2 separate regions of the Homo sapiens genome follow, and region 2 is linked to region 1. Evidence: promoter capture Hi-C in 16 types of primary human blood cells and fetal thymus (Javierre and others, 2016). All regions are on one chromosome and are shown on one strand. Each heading gives the region's core, a stretch centred on a gene start or on the middle of the fragment in contact. The rest is flanking DNA. Distances are from core to core; before and after follow the strand shown. Region 1 holds the start of ZNF212 (zinc finger protein 212). Region 2 has its middle 13 kb from the start of TRC-GCA11-1.

Region 1 (6,446 bases), core at 1,729-4,228:
CACATTCTCAGTGGAAGACAAGGACACTAGGGCAGAGTGAGCATGAGCCACAGCACTTAGTAAATGAAGGATCTGGGACTAAACAACAATAATGATCATGAGTACTTCTTGAGCTCTTCCTCTGTGCCAGGTACTGTTCTAAGCACTTGACTTGAATTCACTCATTTAATTCACACAACTCTATGAGCTAAGTACTGTTATCTATTCACCAATAATCATGAGGAAACAAGTACTAAGAAGTTAAAGACCTGACCAAGTTTCACATCTAGTAAGTGGCTGTGATGGTGAATACTGAATCAACTTGATCGCATTGAAGGATGTAAAGTATTGATCCTGGGTGTGTCTGTGAGGGTGTTGCCAAAGGAGATTAACATTTGAGTCAGTAGGCTGGGAAAGGCAGACCCACCCTCAATCTGGTGGGCACAATCTAATCAGCTGCCAGCACAGCTAGAATATAAAGTAGGCAGAAAAATGTGAAAAGACTAGACTGGCCTAGCCTCCCAGCCTACTTCTTTCTCCCATGCTGGACCCTTCCCACCCTCGAACATCAACGAACATCAGACTCTAGGTTCTTCAGTTTTGGGACGCAGACTGGCTCTCCTTGCTCCTCAGCTTCCAGATAGCCTATTGTGGAGCCTTGTGAGCATGTGAGTTAATACTTAATAAACTCCCCTTTATATAACATTATATATATATCCTATTAGTCTGTCTAGAGAAACCTAATATACTGGCAGTGCTGGGCTAGGGACCCAGACGGTCTCACTCCCCAGCCCCACTTAGCAAATCACTGTGCCACACTGTCTTCATCAGCCCGGGGGACTGCAGGCGCCACACCATCTCCACCAGCCCACGTGATTGCAACCCTGGTGCCTGGTGCTGCCTCCTTTGCAGGCTGGAAATTTGATCTGAACCTTTTTCCAGACTTCCAGGCTCAGAGTCTGGGATGCTGAAACATGCTCATTTTCAAGAGACTGAGGTATACATGTGCATCAGCTTCACCTGCATGTTGCCTCCCAGAAGCTACCTGGCAACATGCAACGTCAGAAGGTTGCCTTGTGAGTATAGAAATAGAATAGAGGGAATGAGTTCTACGACCGAACTGTTTAATGACCTCAGCATCCTATGTCCTGATATTGTGCCTGTGGAGGATAACATTTTTATTTTATTTTTAAAGACAAGATCTTGGTCTGTTGCCTACGCTGGAGTGCAGTGGTGCGATCGTGATTCACTGCAGCCTTGAACTACTGGGTTCAAATGATTCTTCCACCTCAACCTCTTGAGTAGCTGAGACTACAGGTGTGCACCACTACTCCTGGCTCATTTTAATTTTAATTTTAATTTTGTAGAGACAGGGTCTGCCTATTTGCTCAGGTTGGTCTCAAACTCCAGTGATCCTCCTGCCTTGCCCTCCCAAAGTGCTAGGATTACAGGCATGAGCCACCTCACCCATGACACATTTTTTTTTTTTTCTGTATCTGACACCAAGAGTTTGTTGGTCTGAGAGATTAGGTCAGACCCTCTGGACAGGATCTCCCTGACTGACCGGTTTCTTCAGCCTGGCCCATTCTTTCTCTAGATTTATTAATGATTCAGTGACGTGCCCGTTGATCTAGTTGCCCTGGAAATAATGCCTCTGTTTGAGATGACATTTCATATCCTTACACTCTGATTCACCATTCAATCATTTACAAATATGAACACTTCTGTGTACAACAAATGGAGGATACAGTAGACAGACATTTCAGTGGAAGAGATACAGATAATTAATATGTAAATGAGTGAAAAAGAGAGATTACTTCAGATGGTGATAAATGGTATGAAAAATTTCCAGCAGGGTAACGAGATTGAGTATTGAGATGGAGGATGGTGTGGGGCTGTAGAAAGGGGGGACTGGGGATATCTCTCTGAGGATGTAGAATCTGAACTGAGCCCTGCATGTGAGGAAGGAGCCAGTCATGATCTTAAAAGTTTCGTTCTCCGCCGGGTGGGGTGGCTCACACCTGTAATCCCGGCGCTTTGGGAGGCTGAGGTGGGCGGATCACCTGAGGTCGGGAGTTTGAGACCAGCCTGACCAACATGGGGAAACCCCGTCTCTACTAAAAATACAAAATTAGCCAGGCGTGGTGGCACATGCCTGTAATCCCAGCTACTAGGGAGGCTGAGGCAGAAGAATCGCTTGAGCCCGGGAGGTGGAGGTTGCAGTGAGCCGAGATTGCGCCATTGCACTCCAGCCTGGGCAACAAGAGCGAAACTCCATCTCAAAAAAAAAAAGTTTCGTTCTCAGAGGAAACACTTCACGCCTATCCTGTGAAGTGGAAGTTCATTGCTTGTCTCCAGAGAGACAATGGTATAAATTAGGCAGCTATGGTTGCCGTAGTGTTGCTGGTATTGGGGATTAAGTACATGGCGATTAAATGGTCATGTGGCCGTGCTTTCCAACAAAAATTCCAGACACATCGTCTTACATGTAGCATGAGGACTGGAAATATTTGAAATCAGGGTTGTCTTGGACTTTCCAAGGCACATGATTACCATAATTAACAGGCTACAGAGGGCTGGCCTGGGCCTGACCCCACGCTCCACACTGTTGATATGGAAACTGTTCCCAGTTTCTAAAAAGCCAAATAACAGGTGAACTTTTGGAATAAAATCACTTGCCTTTTGGAACCATATTTCTTTTCCCCAACAACATTACATGTTCTTTCCTCAGCAAAAAGTCTGAGTTGTACACATTTTTGAATCCCTCAAAGCATTTAGCAGAGTGCTGGGCATACGGAAGACAGCAGGATCCCGTGGCTTTGCCTGAAACGCGGAACCTGGTCTTGACTTTTGAGTGACTGAGCCCTCCTGGTGCCCGCACTCTGGCCGGGAGTGCCAAGCAGCGTTCTCCCTCCCGCCGCACGGGGGCACAATGGGAAGCCTGCACAGTGAGGAAGAGCGGCTGGAGCCGGTCTTGTGCCGGGGAGGTCGCTGCTCCCAGAATGCACCTGGCATCAACACGGCGGCGGCGGCGGCGGCTTCCAACAGGCTCTGGGGCGCCGAGCGGACAGGAACGCAGCACGGGGGCTCCGAGGCGGGGTCTGGGTGTTGAGGGGCGACTGGAGCCATGGCGGAGTCGGCGCCTGCTCGGGTAAAGAGGCACCGGCGCGCTGGCTCGAGGGCGCGTTGGGGATGGCGGAGTCCCCTGCCGGGGGCGGGGCTTCGCGGTTTGGACGCCGCCGGGGTCTTGGTTTCCCGGGGCTGCCGTTGGCGCGGGTGAACGCGGACCCTCCTCTTCGCGACCCCAGTGCTCTGCCCTTTTTTCCCTCCGCTTCCTTCTGCAGCGGGGTCGGAGCCTCGGCGCCGTGCGCCCTTGCCCAGAAACTTCTCTGACGCTTGCTTTAGGTTGGTGGATTTGTGACCCTGCCCACACATTTTCTCTTTCGTGCCAAAAGAGCCCGTTCCCAGGTTGGAGTGTTTCCAGATTGGAAACGGTCTCCGTCGCTACGAGTGAGCTCTCCCGCTGCCCGGGAGACCCCAGGACTTGCCTCTCTGCGACCACCTCCTCTTCGGTCCGATGTGTTGTCGGTTTTTCCAGTGCTGCAGATTTCTGTCTGGGGGTTGCAGCCACAGGTTGAAGTCAGCCTGGGCTGCTTCTCCTTGGGGACGGATGTTATCTACAGTGCAGTTGCTGCATTTTGTTTGTAGAGCTGCCCAAACTCTCTCCTTCACCCCCCCCCCAACACCCCCCTCCCAGCCCACCGACCATCCCCATTCTGGGAATGTCAAGATACGGAGTTTGGTGTGAGGAAAATCCTATTTGTGGAGTCACGAAGCTTTCAGCTGTCCATTTGGGTGATTTTAGGCAACTGTGTTCGCTTCTCTGGGTCTCTTTCGTTTTCTTAACTGTAAATCGAGAGTGTTGGAGTAGTTGCTAGATGATCTCCAAGGCTTTAAGTTTCCTTCCAGCTCCGACATTCTCATACTGTTCCCATACTGTTTCAAAGTAGTGGTTAATTTAACAACACCAGAGGGTTTGCAACGGAAGGGGCAGCTGGAATTGAATTGACTTTTAATGAAGTGTTCCTTGGTCTAGAAACACTTCGAGAATCATGTTAGATCTTTGTGAGAATGGAGGGCTAAGGAAATTCTGTGGGGAAAATTTGACCATGAGCAGGGTGCGCTATATTTGATTCTTGTAGAAAGTGCGTTAAGAACTAAGAACGGAGAGATTGGGAGACTTAGAGAACACAGTATTTGCTTTCAAGGAAGTTAACAGTTGAATTGGGAAGACAAGACACAAATGTTTACAATATTAACCTCATCTGACTCCTATAAGCTAGGCTGAGCCAGTCAAAGACTTGGCTTTTCCACAAGATCTAGTTAGTGTTAGAGTCCGGCGAGAGGATTCTGCCACAGTTCTTCCTGCCAGGTCACTCCACAATTACCTACATGTCGTCAGTAGACCTTGTTAGGAAGAAGCCTTAAAGGTCCACCACAGGCCAGGCGCAGTGGCTCATGCCTGTAATCCCAGCACTTTAGGAGGCCGAGGAGGGCGGATCACGAGGTCAGGAGTTCAAGACTAGTCTGGCCAATGTGGTGAAACCCGGTCTCTACTAAAAATACAAAAATTAGCCGGGCGTGGTGGCGGGTGCCTGTAGACCCAGCTACTCGGGAGGCTGAGGCAGAATAATCGCTTGAACCTGGGAGGTGGAGGTTGCAGTGAGCTGAGATCGTGCTATTGCACTCCAGCCTGGGTGACAGAGCAAGACTCTGTCTCAAAAAAAAAAAAAAAAAAAAAGTCCACCACAATCCCAAACTATGCCTTAAATAACATGAATCTGTCGTTGTAGAACTTATTCAAATTGTTCTTGAGCCTGTTTCTCTTCTCAGACATTTCAGGTGTCTGTCATTTAACAGTAAGCTCAAGTAGGTGCCCTGATGAAACAACTGAAAATGCTGGAAAACCCTGCACATAAATGCATTTGAAATGTATTTTAGTAAAGAATACTTGGAGCCCCAAAACTTAAGCGAAAGAGGAAACTCGAAAGTGATAGAGTTCTGAAGCCAACTTTGAGGGCATTGGCCAAACATTCATCTTTGGTGTTTATGATTCAAGGGACCTGCAAAATGGAACACACATCTCAGAGCCTAAGATGGAAAGTCTAAGAAGCTCCCTAACCCAATCCCATGAAGCAGAGAGTTCAAAGGGTAACATTCTGTGTAAGGGTGAACTGAAAGTAAGGTCTGACCTTCAGATGATTGCAAAGTAAGTTGTTAAACCTTGGCACTGAGATTACAGGCGTGAGCCACCGTGCCTGGCCATAGTTTCGTTTCTTTTCTTTCTTTTCTTCTTTTTCTTTTCTTTTCTTTTTTTTTTTTTTTTTTTGAGAGAGTCTCGCTCTCTTGCTCTGGCTGGAGTGCAGTGGAGCAATCTTGGCTGCCTGAAACCTCTGCCTCCCAGGTTCTAAGCGATTCTCCTGCCTCAGCCTCCGGAGTAGCTGGGATTACAGGCATGCGTCACCATGCCTGGCTAATTTTGTATTTTTAGTAGAGATGGGGTTTCACCGTGTTGGCTGGGCTGGTCTCTGAACTCCTGACCTCAGGTGATCCACCTGCCTCGGCCTCCCAAAGTGCTGGGATTACCACTGCATGAGCCACCGCACCCGGCCTAAGGCAGAGGGAATTCTTAAAAGCAACCAAAAAAAAAAAAGACTACCTTGAAATGAAGTACAGCAAAATGAATGGGGGCCAGCTTCTCAACAGCAACCATGGAAGCTAGGCAAAAGTAGAATGATATTGTCAATAGGCTGAAAGAAAGTAACTGTGGTCCCATAGTTTTATATGCAGCAAAAATGTTTCAGAAACAAAGATGTAAAGAAGACATTTTTAGACAAATTAAAAATGACAGTTTGCTACCAATACACTCTTAGAAAAGGAAATTCTAAAAGATATACCTCAGGTAAAATGAAAATTTTCCCAAATAGAAAGTCTGAAAATATGAGAAGATGTGATGATGCATGGAAATGGTTAAATCTAAACAAATAGTGACTTAATAAAACGTAACAATTTCTTGTTGTGTTAAAAACAATTAAAATACATGATGGCATTGATGTAAATATGAGGAAGAGATGATCAGAACTAAAGTGTTTAAAGGGCTTTGTTAAAGGGCCTTCTATGTATGTTTCCCATAATTTCTAGGATACTTGCTAAACAACTCGAAATTGGTCGTATAACTTACAGATCAGAAAGGGGGATAATGGAATAAGAAAAAATTAATGTAAAAGAAGACAAGAAAGTAGAGAAGAAAGATGGGATAAATAGCACAAAAAAGGTAAAAATAAATCAAAGCTAATGAACAATTACAATAAATGTAAATGAATGAAATGTTCAAGTTAAAAGGCATAGATTGTCAGGATGGGGGAAAAATCCAACTAGATGGTTTAAAAGAGTTACAACCGGCTGGG
Region 2 (6,446 bases), core at 1,435-3,934, 190 kb after region 1:
TACTGGGTGGTTAAAATTGATTTCTTCCATAGTTATGGAAAAGACTTGATACCTTCTCTTGGAGAAATAAGGGACTCATTCAATTGTAAGTTTTTATTGTTTAGAACATAGAAATTCCTTCTACAACCAGAAAAAAACGCTATTTTCATTTGGGGGCAAAGAATTTTAAATAAGATTCTGGAATTCTGTTATGTGATTACTACATACTAATAAGAGTTCATCTTTTTGGTAAAATGAACACCCAAGCATGTTTGTATGCAATTAACGTTTGTTTCAAGACTCTGAAGAGCTGGCAACAATTTGGGCAAGGAAAATGTGTCTATTTCTCTCAATTTGTCTACTGTATGAATTAAACACACCAGAGACTGGCTTAAATTGGTCTGAATATTGACTTGCTTTTTTAGCAGCACTCTGAAACATTTGAGGTTTTTTTTTTTTCCCAAACTTATTTCAGAATGCATCACTGGATAAATTGGCTTGGTAAGGCATTGATTAATTCAAGACACAGTAAGGAACCACTGGGTTAAAGTGGGAAAGAAATAATACAAATTTTAGTTGGACAGTCATTATTATTAAATTGTTCAGGGGGTAACTATGGGAACCAACTTAGTGTCTTTACTTTTTGACAAAATTAATGTGATTTATAGTGATGACTATCATCCAAATCGAAAAATATATACAGAATTTTTTTTAAGAGACAGATTCTCACTATGTTGCTCAGGGTGGTCTCAAACTCCTGGGCTCAAGCGATCCTCCTCCTTAGACCTCCCGAAGTGCTGGGATTACAGGTGTGAACCACCACACCTAGCAGAAATTTTTTTGTATACGCCAGACGCGGTGGTTCACACCTATAATCCCAGCACTTTGGGAGGCCTATGGAGGATTGCTTGAGTCCAGGAGTTTGGGACCAGCCTAGACAACGTAGTGAGATGAGACCATGTCTCTACTAAAAATAAGAAAATTAGGCTTGGTGGCTCATGCCTGTGGTCCCAGCTACTCAGGAGGCTGAGGCGGGAGGATCACCTGAATGTGGGAGGTCCAGGCTGTAGTGAGCCATGATGTCACCATCGTACTCCAGCCTGAGACAGAGCAAGACCCTGTCTCAAAAATAAATAAATAAATTTTTTTAATCTTAAATTTTAGAATTTGCATAATTTACCTGCAGCAAATTTGATCATGGGACCATGTAGTTCTTGGCTGGTACCTTCTGTGGAAAAATGGCAAGTTTCACCTTTCATACTTGTTTACTTTTCTTAATTGAGTTTAGCTTAAATCCAAGCTATTTCAATCCTTTGAGGGCATAATTTGATTATTTGTGTATCAGGTAAATGAAGAGCTGATTGCATTTAATTTTTAAAAAGATTTTATACTTATTAGACTATACTGATTTTAAGAAGAAACAGTCTGTTGTCCTGATAATCATTCTTTAAATAAAATTACCAGCAGGGATAGACATTTTCACTGATACATTTTGTCATTAAAATTCAACTTTCCATTACCTGAATTAATAGACAGCAGTGATGCTCCTGTCTTATAATACTTGAGTTATTTTGAGATATTATTTTACAAAGAGAAGCAGTGAGTTTCATTCATGCGGTAGTGGCGGGGAGGGAATGGTGAGAACTTAGAGGTAGCACTGAGCCGGCAGGATTAGAGTCAAGGGTGTATTTTGTGTTATTAGGGAGCAGGTATTTCTTCCTTATAATAATCTCCTTCATGCAACTACTCCTCTGACTGATAAACAAATGGCTTCTTAGGTCCCAACGTCAGAAATAAACAGAGAAAGGTGGCCTCTTGCCATAACAGTGCTCTCCCCAAAGTCCCTAAGGTATAGAGGACTCAGTCTAAAACGGGGGCTGGATTGGTGTTCTAACCACCAGTGTGCCCAGGAACACCTATTCTACCCTGGTCAGGTGAACCTCAGGACGTCTCCCAATGTCGCCTGGGCTTGGCTGGCCAGGCAGCCAGGGAACTGTGCTTTCAGGCAGGTCCAGACTCACATGCTGTGCCCATAGACAGTGAGAGCTGCAAATCAAAGAGAAATAGTCATGTTTTGCCCTTTTTATTAAGGATCCATGTTGAAATTGGGAGGCAGTATGTAACAGTGGTTAATAGCACACAGCTGGGGTTCCCACCCACTTAGGTTTAAATTCTGGCCGTGTGACCTTGGCTGCTGATGGCTGAACCTCTCTGAACTTCATCTGTTCAAGGGGACACAGATACCAATTTCACAGGTTGTTGCAAGATAAAATGAAAGGAAAGCGTTTATGATCTGGCACAGTGACTGCAACATGGTAAAACTCAATGAATTGTAGTGATTTTAGTTATTATCCTTAATAAACTTATGGCTAGTTCTGACTTCTGAACAGAACTTTTCATGTAAGGTTGCGATCAATAGTACTATGTTTAATGTTTTCTTTTCTTTCTTTCTATCCTGGTCTTTTCCCCTTTTTTCCTTCCTTTCACCTTCCTTTTCTTTCTTTTTTTTAGAGAAATCATTTAACCTGGAGCTGTCCTTTGTAGAAAACAGAAATAAAAGGGCTAAAGTCTATATTTTAACTAAAATTCCTCATTTCAAGGAAACCAACTAGAAATGGTAGATGCAAAGTTGATTTTTTTTTTTTTTTTTTTTTACAAATTGTCATCTAGAAGTTGCCAGTATGACTGGGAAGCAACAAGAGGCTTCAGCAGCAGTAATGCTTTCCAGAGCGCTGGAGGAGAGGCCCTGGCCTGACTCAATGTTGCCCTGGCAACAGTAGGGCCTGGAGGGCCTCTGTCCCTGATCCCTTAATCTGAGGAGCTGCCACCACAGTGCTTCAGGAAAGGTCTCCCACAGACACCTGGCTGGTTCAGGCTACATCCACTGAAGAGGAATGAAGAAAAGCTGGGGATGCGGTCCTTTATCAGAGACAGCCGCCTAAAGGCCTCTCTGATGGTCCCAGCTTTCCAGATCCCCAGAGGCTTAACCAGGCTGCCAGTCTCCACCAGATGCTAAGTGCTGTCTAGGCAGCCAGGGATTCCTAATCCTCTTGTGTTTCTCCACAGAGCCCAGCACAATTCTTTGCACACAAGTGGTGATTAATAAATACTGGGGGGGGGGTGCAGGGCTGTAAGACAGTGAGCATCCCCTCGGCACCAGCCCTGCCTGTCCCACCTGTGACCTTGGAGGACCCAACTCCTCTCCTCTTCATTTCTCAGCTATAAAATGCTAGGGCTCAGCGCTAAGGGTTTTTTCCTGCCTCAAACATTCTTTTTTATCCTCTTACTGTGTTCATCATTTTGGCAAATGCACAGAGCATGTTCTGTTTAATATATTTTGTTTCCCCCAATTTTATCTTCAGTCAAAAAATCCGGAGGCAAAATGGAATAATTTAAAAGAGGTGCTGGCTTTTCTTTTTTCAACAACGATACTGGCCCCAGGAAAACAACTTTTTGGCCAAGCACATGGGCTTTGGAGTCAAAGAACTGAGTTCAAATCCTGGCTCTACTATTTGGTTGCTGTGTGACTTTGGGCCTACTTAACCTCCCTGAGCCTGGAGCTTTCCACCTATAAAATGGGTGTAATGAAACATACATCAGAGTTATGAAGGGATGTATGTAAAGTCTTCCAAAGTAAGAAGCTCTCAATAAATGGTAGTTATTCCTTCTGCTACACAGCTTTATGGGGCCAACAGCAACAGGCAACTTAGGAGTTCACAAGTCTAATTAAATTAAGGGCACCCAAGAAAAGCACTGTGAAAGAGGACCAGAAAACTCAGCGAGGTGGGGTACTACCTCCTGCAAACTCTGGAGTGTGGCCAAGGGGTGAACTGAAACCCTGTCCACTCCTAGATAAGGACCATGATATAGTTGTGGTTTAATTTGTACTTTCTCACACCAAAATAATCTACATTTGCCTACTGAAATTTCCTTCTCAAAGATTCATTCTTTTAGGATATAACACTAGCCCACTACCAACTTGAACTTCTGTTTGAAATTAGTAATCTCTTATTGAGACCTTAGTATCTGCCAGTGTCTTTGCTATGTATCTATTGTGATTTAAGCCTCAGAACAATGGGAACTTTATTATCCCTATTTGACAGATGAGGAAATTGATGTTCTGTTAATTAACTTGTTCAAGGCCATACAACTATGAAGTTTAAAGCCACGTCTTTTTGACACCAAAGGCTATCTACACTTTAGGAACCAATAGCAGAGATTAGGGCAAATGGAAAGTGAGATTCAAGATGGTGGCAAGAAGTCAGAACAAGGGGAGAGACGATGGGGGGCACAGGGTGCTGGGCACTTAGGAAGAGGCATGAGGAGGGAGTCAGAGCCAAGGAAGGGGAGGTAGAAGTCAGGGAAGTCATGGCAGCCCAGCTACGTGTAAGATGAACCAATCTTGACATACTATGACGTGTTCTGAAAGACTTTAAATGGTATCCCAATAGACAGAGACGTAAGGATGCACGAACCAGGCTGTTCTAGTTGGTGCAATAAATTGTCAGTTAAAAGAAAAAGAAATACCAATCTTTGACTATATTTGGTTTAATCCTTTTAAAAAACAAATTTCAGATGGGAGCTATGGCTCATACCTGTAATCCCAGCACTTTGGGAGGCTGAGGTGGGAAGATGGCTTAAGGCCAGGAGTTTTGAGACCAGCCTGGGCAACACAGAAAGACTCCCCCATCTCCAAAAAAGTTAAAAAAAAAATTAGCTGGGTGTGGTGGTGCACACCTGTAGTCCCCCAGCTACTCGAGAGGCTGAGGCAGGAGGACTGCTTGAGCCTAAGAGGTTGAGGTCAGAGTGAGCCATGATGGTGCCACCACATGCCAGCCTAGGTGACAGTGCAAGACCCTGTCTCAGAAAACAAGCAAAACGAAACAAAAACCACCCAGATTTCCTAGAAAAAGAAAGCCTCTCAAGCACCATTCTCATTTGACCCCATAATGTCCTGCTAACTTCATGTAACAAATGAAGTTCCTCTCTGAGTCTCCCACATGGATTCTACCCCACAGCACCTCCGTCTCCACTCAGGGTGGATATTTCCAGCACTCTTTGGTCCTCCAATTCCAGAGCTAGTAAAAATTTAGGGCAGCAACAGCCCTCTACCAAATACCTCCCCAAATTCCTCCACTAACAACTCTTTGAGACTTCAAATATCCTCACGTTCAAAAGAACCATTTCCCCTGCCATCCCTTCAACCTCCACCCACGGGTTCTGTTATCTGCAACCCGTCCGTGGAACTGAGCTGGTTCTCCCACACCTGACTGTTAGATTTCTTTGCCTTCTACCAGATTCAGTCCCTGGATAGCTATTTGTATCATCTCTCTCTCCTACTCAGCAATCTTCAATGGTTTTTCCTACAAGATCCAATTCAAAGTCTGCAGCCTTGAAGTCTTAGATCCTTTCTGCACCCCTAGTCTACTCCAAACCAACATTTGGCCCTGTTTTTCCTAGACAGGCCCTTTCATCCAGCTGAGGTTTAATCCATCACTGCTTACATCCTGATCTTACATGCAGCCTACTCTCCACACTTTTCCTTTTATGACCACCCCCACCAAGAAAGCTTTCCTCATTTTTCTCATGTATGGAAATCCTCTCCATCCCGCAGGCCCAGCTCAGATTCCACCTCCTGGGGGAAGCTGTCCTCCTGCAGGCCCCCTCTGCCTGGCAACTGGTGAAGCTGGCTGCACACTACGGAACTACCTGCCCACGTATCTGCACCAGCCTCGCAGCTGATGCTTCAGGTCTTGGTGGAAACTGCCCCTCAGTCCTTTACACCAGCCCAGACCTCTGCTCCCTCCTCTGGCCACCATCCCTATATGTCCTATCATCGACTTAGAAATTCAGTCTAAATGGAGAAGCTTCACATGTGAGATCTTGTGCTATCAATCACTTCCCCTTTCTGTGCTTAGCTTACAAACTCTTTATACAAAGCAGAGGGAGTTGATGATCTCTATGGTCTCCTGAAAGTCAAGAGTGTATCACCTTCTTCCTCCAAATCCCCTTTTTTGAACCCCCTTCAAGTATCTTGTCACAACTTGACAGGCCTGGCTTCAGCAGTGCTCTCCTCTCAGGCCAGTCTCTCTGCTTTCAGCCCAGCTTCCCCAGTGTGCGAGGCTGAGCTGTGCACTCTGCTAGCCTCCATGAATTATCCCTTCGAATGGCCTGAATTCTCTCTGGGCCACTGCCAAACCCATCAGCAGAGTAAATCGCTCTGTGGGCAACGTAATAAATATTCCTGCAGTTTCTCTTTCTATAAGAGAGAGCTGGAGGGAGATGGGAAATGAATGAATACCTAGAGAAACCAGGGTTCGTCAGTGCGTTCAGCAAGTCCAGAGTAGCTTTGGTGCAACATTCAAATAAAAAATGTTCTGACTGGTGCCTTTTGTGGCTTCCGCAAAGACTGGCACCAGGGGCCTCTGCACCTCTTCCCTAGGCTTCCCTCCCGCCACCCTACTCCT

Evidence for each region. Contacts are between HindIII fragments. The CHiCAGO score rates a contact against its expected background, and 5 or more counts as called.
Region 2: a fragment that was not itself captured here is called in contact with the fragment with the promoter of ZNF212 in region 1 in 1 of 17 cell types (non-activated CD4 T cells); the score reaches 5.7 in non-activated CD4 T cells.

The regions. Positions count from the first base shown.
Region 1 is chr7:149,236,673-149,243,118 of GRCh38, forward strand. It overlaps ZNF212 (zinc finger protein 212), which reads left to right and starts at 2,979. Exons shown (of 5, transcript NM_012256.4): 1 at 2,979-3,130. The coding sequence starts at 3,107. RefSeq lists an enhancer at 2,746-3,040. The HindIII fragment of the contact is 6,599 bases long and covers 1-3,813 here.
Region 2 is chr7:149,424,516-149,430,961 of GRCh38, forward strand. No RefSeq gene overlaps it. Among named protein-coding and RNA genes, the nearest start is that of TRC-GCA11-1, 13 kb to the left of the region's middle. The HindIII fragment of the contact is 5,723 bases long and covers 1-5,546 here.